Linked DNA regions of Homo sapiens: all the other regions are linked to region 1. The links are contacts of gene promoters, found by promoter capture Hi-C in human tissues and cell types (Jung and others, 2019). All regions are on one chromosome and are shown on one strand. The core of a region is centred on a gene start or on the middle of the fragment in contact, and the rest is flanking DNA. Distances in the headings are between cores, read along the strand shown. Region 1 holds the start of CLDN19 (claudin 19). Region 2 holds the start of LOC124904162 (a long non-coding RNA gene). Region 3 overlaps CCDC30 (coiled-coil domain containing 30).

Region 1 (2,700 bases), core at 156-2,655:
TGTGTGCTCGGATCCACGTGGCTCTGACCCTCCCAGCACAGAGAGCCTGAGGGTCCCAGTGTGCACCACCACAGGTCAAGCAGTGCCCACCCTTGACCCTCAGATGGCAGACCACTCCCCCATCTCTGGCCAGAGCTGCAGGCCATACCAGAGGCCTACGCCCTGGGCGGGCACACAGGGCTGCCATTGTCTGCTCAGCGCCTGGCACCCTCTCGTTTGCATAGCCACGTGAAGAATGCAAGAGCGGGCTGGGGACTTGTCCCTTCAGAGGGGGGTTGGGGCTGTGGGGGAGGAAGCCAGCAGGGGTCTGCAGCAGGACCCTGCCTTCCCCCAGTGCAGTCCAGGAAGGGTGGGTGGGCTGTTGGGGACGGAGGGGGCGGCGGGGGGCTGGCAGGAGTGGAAGCAGGGTTGTGACATTCCTTCTGCACCCACGCTGCAGTGGGGCCCACTTGAACGTGAGGGGATTGCTAATGAGGTGGAAGAGAGTTAAACATTCCCCTACTCCTGAAGACCAAGAGAGACTGGGAGAGAGAAGAGGGAGGTGGGGGTGCTCGGAGCGGGCAGCCTGAACCCCGGGAATGTGCAGAGGCCACTGCTCCGCGCCAGGCTGCTCTAGAGTTGGGGGCCAGGGCCCAGTGTTCCAGTCCCAGCAGGAGCTACTAAGCCAGCCAGCAAGGGGATTAAGGGGCTGAGCAATCCGCCTTCCTTCAGGCTGATGCCAGAAGGTTGGGGCTGTCTCCCCAGCTCCCCACCAGGCCCCTTGCTGGCCGGCAGCCAGCGCTGGCCCAGCCTCGATAGGGCCCCTTTTCTGTCCCCCTCAGATCTCAAAAAGACCCCACAGTACATATTTCCTGGTCTGGCCTCCCTGATTTTTGGCACACACAGCTCCCAGGTACCCATGACCCCTCTTCCCAACACCCCACCGCTAGCTCAGCCTCCCCACATCCAGCTTCAGAGCCCCTGCCAAAAAGTTATCCTTGACATCTAACTCTAGTTTTACCCGCTGCAAACTGGCATTCCTTTCCCTTCTGTCCTAAAGTCAAAGGGCAGAAAACCCCAAGGGTTAGATCAGCCTTGCAAGAGCAAAGTCCATCCTCCCAGGGCTGGTGTTTGGGTTAGGGATTATCCGAATTTTAGGACACCCGAATCAGGTTCCTAAAGGGGTTTCCCTGTGGGGAAAGGCCCAGAGGGCAGCTGGGTCATTCCTCTCAGCCCCTCCCTTCCCTATCCCTGCGGAACGGGGCGGGGCAGGGACACCACCTGGGCCATGGGCCGGCCCTCCGCCCCCAGGGGGCTGGGCATGAGCTTTGCTGGGGACCCTGCTCTGGCTTAGGCGGCTGCTGTGGGCGGGCCCTGGCCTTTTCCAGCCCCTGGGCCTCCCCCTGCATTCTGGAGTCCAGAGCCACTGCCTTTGCTCCAGCCGCTGCCGCCGCACCACCTCTCCTTCTCTGCCTCTGACCCTCCTTCTCGCTGCTCCCCCTGCCCAGCTGCTCCTCCCACCTGGCCATGACCAAAGCCCCTGCTGGCACCCTGGCCCAGCTCTGAGTCCTGGGACCCTCGGTCCTCTCTCCTGGGCCATGGCCAACTCAGGCCTCCAGCTCCTGGGCTACTTCTTGGCCCTGGGTGGCTGGGTGGGCATCATTGCTAGCACAGCCCTGCCACAGTGGAAGCAGTCTTCCTACGCAGGCGACGCCATCATCACTGCCGTGGGCCTCTATGAAGGGCTCTGGATGTCCTGCGCCTCCCAGAGCACTGGGCAAGTGCAGTGCAAGCTCTACGACTCGCTGCTCGCCCTGGACGGTAGGCCCCAGGCCGGCGGGGTGGGAGATGGGAGGTGGGAACAGCAGGGGAGTCTGGAGCAAGTTTTCCTCACAGTCTGCTATCTGCGCTGGGCTCCAACCTCCAGCCTCCGCTCTACAATTCCCCCACTACTGCCCTGTGCCCATTGACGGTCCAGGCCAGCCTGCTGCCCTGTGGGAGGGGAGGGCTCTAGGGTCTGGCGGCTGTGGGTCCAGATTCCTGCTCTGTCACTATAACTTTGAACTAGTCACCAAACCTCTTCCCATTGTGATGTTCTCATCTCTAAAGGGGAATACTAATACCTGTGGCACTCTGAAAGACTCAGTTAAGACCCTTCATCCACTTCTCCCCACAGTCAGTAGACAGACACACACTGTATGATGCACACCTGCTCCCTAGTCCTGCTCCCAGGCCTGTGTGCCAGCATATGGGTGCATGCACATGCATGCAAACACGCATGCACACGCACACACGTGCACATGCATGCACAGACAGGTGTGTCTGCATGCAGTCCCTCTCCTTCTGGGGTGTGGAGATGAGCCTGACAGGCACCGCCGAAGTTCTAACTCTGGGGTGGAGGTGATCCACCTGCAATCTGCCCAGGAGCCCCCAGGGACAATCTGCTCCCCATGGGAGCTGGGAGCAGAGCGGCCTTCAACCAGCCCCATTGTGCCAGTTCAGGCAGGTCAGTTCAGGCAGGTCATCTAGCCTCGCTGAGGGACCCAGGTCTCCTGAGCACCCCCCAGGGCCCAGGATGGACCCATGCACCCGTGAAGAGGCAAGCTTCCAGCTGCCATGGGCAGAGGGGAAAGTGACTGTTGTCTGAATGGCTGCTGGGGAGGGGTTGCTGCGGGGCTCAGGCTGAGTTGAGCTGGGCCTCAGATACCCCCAGCTCTTCCA
Region 2 (2,700 bases), core at 1-2,500, 66 kb after region 1:
CCAAAGCCTTTGTCCTTTTTGTCAGACTCTGATGGCTCTCTGTGGAGGTCCAGAACAAAAAGCAATCCTTCTTCCTTGCAGGTTTCGGTCCCAGAGGTAAAGAGAAAGGGAAGTCCACACTCTGGGTTTATGGCCTTGAAGTCGAGCAAGCTATACTAAGAGAACAGAGTAAGTACACCCAGATACTATTGTCCCCCTCCTCTTGCCATTCCTCAAACATGCCACACCTTGCTCCAGTGGACAATGGGTACTGGCATCGTACTGCAGGCACAGACTGAAGTTTAACTGTGGGCCCTCAAGCAAAGTGTATGAAAATGTATAAATGTACTTTGTAAGCTGCATGGTGTGCCAGGACCTAAGCTCTGTCATACCAGGCACTATGTTAGTCAGCATGATCCTTGCTTCAACAAGTTCTCAGTCCAGAGAAAAACAGACTTACATATTTGTGATACAGTATATTAAATGCCACAGTGGAGAGATGAACCAAGTGCTGTGGGAGCACCCACTGTCTGGGCTTAGACCTGGAAGAGGAGGTGGAGGGATCAGCAATGGATTCACACCTGATGTTAGCCACAGCTGTGGGCAGGCTCCTGGGAAGTGCTGGGAGGATTTAGGATTAGTTAACACTACATATAAACAGTATGTATTTCTATTACAAGATACATGTTCAAGGTAGAAAATTCAAGCTTAAATAAGGCAACTGAAAAGTCTCTTTGCTATCTCTACTCTGCAGAAGTATTATCCACAGTCTGCTATATATCACTGCAGAGATTCCTGAAAGTCATTCAAAATAAACAGTAACATGCTTACATAAATTACTACATCTTGACTGTCACTTAACTTACCTTAGAAATCTTGCCAACACATCCAGATCTACCTCTTTATTTTGTTAAGGCTGTATAGTATTCCACTGAAGAGAATGGAACCTCTACGTGTGTAAGACTTGGCTGCAATGCAAGCAGCTTTGCCTTTGTACTGGACTGGAATGGACTGGAGCCAGACATTCTCTCCACTCCTGGCCTTTTCAGCTGGCAGAGCTTCTGAGTTTCAGGACAGGGAACATACAGTGTCACATGCCCAGCAGGCACATAAATATTTGCTGCCAAATCTCCAGTGTTCCCCAGACCCATATTTTCATGTAAAACCTCTTTTCTCTTGCCTGGACTACTACTGCAGTAGACTCCTCACTGGCCTCCAGCCCATCCTCCACAATGCTGCTAGAATCATCTTCTGAACATGAAAATTCATCTACAGTATTCTGCTGAAAATCCTTAAGTGGTTCATATTGGCCTGATTCTTTTTTGGAGGGTCAGTGCCCCTTTTGAGAATCTCAGGAGCACAGTGGACTCCTTCCCCAAAAGGGAAAAATTACTTCATGCCTGAAAGTCAGCCTCTGCCCTCAGAATAACATATGAACTGCTAAACTTGGCACTGGCTTTCACTACTGGCCCTGGCCTCTCTCCAACCTTCTCACCATTTGCTTTTCATATCTTCCTGCTTCAGTCATATTGAATTATTTGCAGCTTCCTCTACACTTCCTGCTGTTTCCTGCCTTTGTGACTTTGCATAGGCTGTTCCCTCTGCCTGGAATGCCCTGCCCAGTTTTAGCCACCTGACAAGTTATATTCTTTCTTGTACTAAACTGAAGCATCATCTCTTCTGTAGTCTACTCAACCACTCTGGGAAGATCCGGGCATTTATGCTTTCCTCACCTTGTTCTAAAACCTCCAATACAGGGCTTTATTGTACTGTAATTGTCAGTTCTCCCAAGAGACTGAGTTCCTTGAAGGATGGAACTGACTTTTCAAATCTGTAGCCTCATATGCAGCATGGGAACTATCTTAATTCATCAGCGCTTAGTTGTGGAATGAATAGAGGACCAGCCCAACTGCCACCAACACATATTTCCTAATCTTCCCCTACGGGAATGTCTCGCATCTATAGGTAATTCTAGAATGAAACACAGTGTTTCCTAAACCTTAGTCATTCAAATAGCATCTTCACAACTGTTACAATATCTATCATCCACAGGTACAATTTATTTTTTAAGCTAATCACTATTTGAACTTCAATATTGCCTCACTATAAGCTGTAATAACTGTAAAATGATGTATTGTGCTAATTCCGTATTTTTTCCTAAGATCCAAATATTAAAATAAAAGACAGTCATCCCACCACTAACTAAAGTAGTGTTTCCCACACTTCTCTATTAAGAAGCATGTGAGATACTTGTTACAAACATAACATCCTGGTCCCACCCCAAAGCCACTCAATCAAATACTCCAGGGAAGGGATCTAGGAATTCGTAGGTTTAACGAGTGCCCCAAAATGATTATTACCTGTTGGAGAATCTAGGCAACAATGAATTAAGGAAAGCTCTCTACCATTTGGTACTGGTACCAGGTTTGAGGATCACAGGGAAGAGGGTAAGCATATCAGACTAGCAGAGCTGCCAGAACTCGGGCTTTCAAAAGAGAGGTGCCACCCTCTCCCATGTCCATGTAAGTAGCAAACAACCCATTCAGACTACAGCAGGAGAATCCTGAGTGTAGAGGTTCATTTATGCTATACATAACCAAATTCATCATAAAAAGTTTTCCAAGGGCTGGGCACGGTGGTTCATGCCTGTAATTCCAGCACTTTGGGAGGCTGAGGTGGGAAGATCGCTTGAAGCCAGGAGTTTGAGACCGGCCTGGACAA
Region 3 (2,700 bases), core at 70-2,569, 100 kb after region 1:
TTTTTTTAGACAGGATCTAGCTCTGTCATCCAGACTGGGGTGCAGTGGTACAATCATGGCTCACTGTAACCTCACACTCCTGGGCTCAAGTGATCATGTGCCTCAGCCTCCTGAGTAGCTAGGACTACAGGCATGAACCACCACAGCTGGCTAATTTTTAAATTTTTTGTAGAGTCAGATGCCTGGTGCCATGGCTCACACCTGTAATCTCAGCACTCTGGGAGGCCAAAGTGGGAGGATTGCTTGAGCCCAGGAGTTTGAGACCAGCCTGGTCAACATGGTGAGACCCCGTCTCCACACACACACACACACACACACACACACACACACACACACACACAAAAGCCATGTGTGGAGTTCAAGGCTGCAATGAGCTAGGATCACACCACTGCACTCTAGCCTGGGTGACAGAATGAGACTCTGTCTCAAAAAAATTTTTTTAAGATAAAAAATAAAATAAAATAGTAGAAACAGGGTCTTGCTCTGTTGCTCAGGCTGGTCTCAAACTCCTGGCCTCGAACTATCCTCCTGCTTCAGCCTCCCAAAGGACTGGGATTACAGGCATGAGACACTGTGCCCAACCTACATGTTTCTTTTAAATAAGATACTAATGTAGGTCATTCAGAAAAGACTGGCCATCTATTATTATTATTAATTTTTTTTTTAGATAAAGTTTTGTCTTTCACCCAGGCTGGAGTGCAGTGGTGCAATCTCGGCTCACTGCAACCTCTGCCCGCTGGGTTCAAGCAATTCTCCTGCCTCAGCCTCCTGAGTAGCTGACATTATAGGTGCCCACCACCGCACCCAGCTAATTTTTGTACTTTTAGTAGAAATGGGGTTTTGCCATGTTGGTCAGGCTGGTCTCAAACTCCTGACCTCAGATGATGCACCCACCTCGGCCTCCCAAAGTGCTAGAATTACAGGCATGAGCCACCATGCCTGGCCATCCATCTATTATTAAAGACCTGTAGGATGTTGATTAGATTATGTTCCGAAAAAGCTATTCCAGATTTTAAAGTCCATCTCAGGGACCCGGCAATATCTAATGGTAGTCTGACCTGCTATAATTTAAAGACATTTAATTAATAATGTATTGGTAAGGATTGAGAATAGAAGCAATCATCCCACAGATAAACCCTAGACAGCTCTAACTGGATTAAAAAGTGTACTGCATGAGGAAGGTGACTGACACCTTGTCCTTGGGAAATACTGTATTTTTTAAAACAAACAAAAATTCCAGACACATGCTGTGATAATAGGATAAAATGGGAAAGTCTGGTTTGAGTGGTCACAACAGAAGTCTCAATTGACTCATTATATAAAGAAAAAGCTGAAGGAATGAAGCCAAAAGAAGTGGCATTACTTTTTGGAGACTTAGAAAGAAATCTGGCATTTTTATGCTCAGTGCTCTGGTCCTTGGGCCCTAAAATATACATAAAATAAGAATTCCTAGGTTTGTACCACTGTGGCATTAAAAGCTCTAACATCAGTCTTCTCTAGGCTAAGTCGTTCTAATTCTGTCAACAATTTCTCATGTGAACAATGAATCCACCAATTAACATTCTTCTAAGATTTTTTTTTTTTTTTTTTGAGACGAAGTTTCACTCTTTTCACCTAAGCTGGAGTGCAATGGTGCAATCTTGGCTCACTGCAACTTCTATCTCCCTGGTTCAAGCAATTCTCCTGCCTCAGCCTCCCAAGTAGCTGGGATTACAGGGATGAGCCACCACACCTGGCCCTTCTAAGAGATTATATACCAAAAAAAGGAAAATAACATCTATGAAAAATGTGTATGTACCAAGTACCACTTTAGAAATTGTATGTTTTAATACTCACAAAAGCCTTGTGTATGTAAGGTAGGGATTATTTCCCTCATTTTACAGATGAGGAAAGTGATACACAGAGACTTGTCCAAGCTTACAGGCAGGGCTAGAATTTGAATCCAAGTCTATTTAAGGCCAAAGCCCACAGTACCCTTCAATGGCAGTGAGCAAAAGATCCAATTATTCTCTCAGCCTCTGCTTATTTGGGAGCTCCAGCACATTTTATGAAGACCTGTGGTTCTTTGGGTAGGTGCATTAGTTTCCTAGGGCTGCCATAACATTTTCTCATAGTTTTGAGTGACAGAAATCTGAAATCACATTGTTGTCAGGGTTAATTACTCATGGGGGCTCCAGGAGAGATTGTGTTGCATGCCTTTCTCCTAGCTTCTGGTGGTTGCCAGCAACCCTTGCTATTTCTTGGCTTGTAGCTGTATCATTCCAGTCTCTGAATTCATCATCATGAGGCATTCTTCCCCTGTCTGTGTCTGTCTGTGTGTTTTCCCCTCTTCCTATAAGGACAGCAATCATCTTAGATTTATGATTCACCCTAATCCAGGATAATCTCACTTAACTAATTGTATCTGCAAAGACCCTATTTCTATATAAGGTCACATTCTAAGGTTCTAGGACATGAATTTGAGGGACGCTATTCAACCCAGTGTAGTCAGGAAGAAAGCTAGCATGCCTGTTGAAAGCAGAAGACTGTTTTTCTGGCCTAGAAGCAAAATGCAAAAGTATGAAAAAGAACTGATAATATAGAAATAGGCTGATGATATGTCTGATGGACCCATGAACTAGGGTTGCTACTTTTTTTTTTCCTTTCTTTCTCTTACTCTTTATTTATTTATTTATTTATTTAGATGGAGTTTTGCTCTTG

What was found. Contacts are between HindIII fragments. The study calls those that stand out against the background at their distance.
Region 2: a contact is called between a fragment that was not itself captured here and the fragment with the promoter of CLDN19 in region 1, in 12 of the 25 tissues and cell types used here (H1 embryonic stem cells, IMR-90 fibroblasts, adrenal gland and 9 more).
Region 3: a fragment that was not itself captured here is called in contact with the fragment with the promoter of CLDN19 in region 1 in 3 of the 25 tissues and cell types used here (mesendoderm cells, pancreas and spleen).

The regions. Positions count from the first base shown.
Region 1 is chr1:42,738,941-42,741,640 of GRCh38, reverse strand. It overlaps CLDN19 (claudin 19), which reads left to right and starts at 1,405. Exons shown (of 5, transcript NM_148960.3): 1 at 1,405-1,800. The coding sequence starts at 1,578. RefSeq lists an enhancer at 1-48. The HindIII fragment of the contact is 9,679 bases long and covers 1-2,700 here.
Region 2 is chr1:42,673,188-42,675,887 of GRCh38, reverse strand. The region is part of intron 9 of PPIH (peptidylprolyl isomerase H); the gene reads right to left. It overlaps LOC124904162 (a long non-coding RNA gene), which reads left to right and starts at 93. Exons shown (of 2, transcript XR_007066034.1): 1 at 93-168. The HindIII fragment of the contact is 8,469 bases long and covers 1-2,700 here.
Region 3 is chr1:42,638,857-42,641,556 of GRCh38, reverse strand. All of the region lies in intron 16 of CCDC30 (coiled-coil domain containing 30), which reads right to left. All of the region lies in intron 1 of LOC124904162 (a long non-coding RNA gene), which reads left to right. Among named protein-coding and RNA genes, the nearest start is that of PPIH, 18 kb to the left of the region's middle. The HindIII fragment of the contact is 8,684 bases long and covers 1-2,700 here.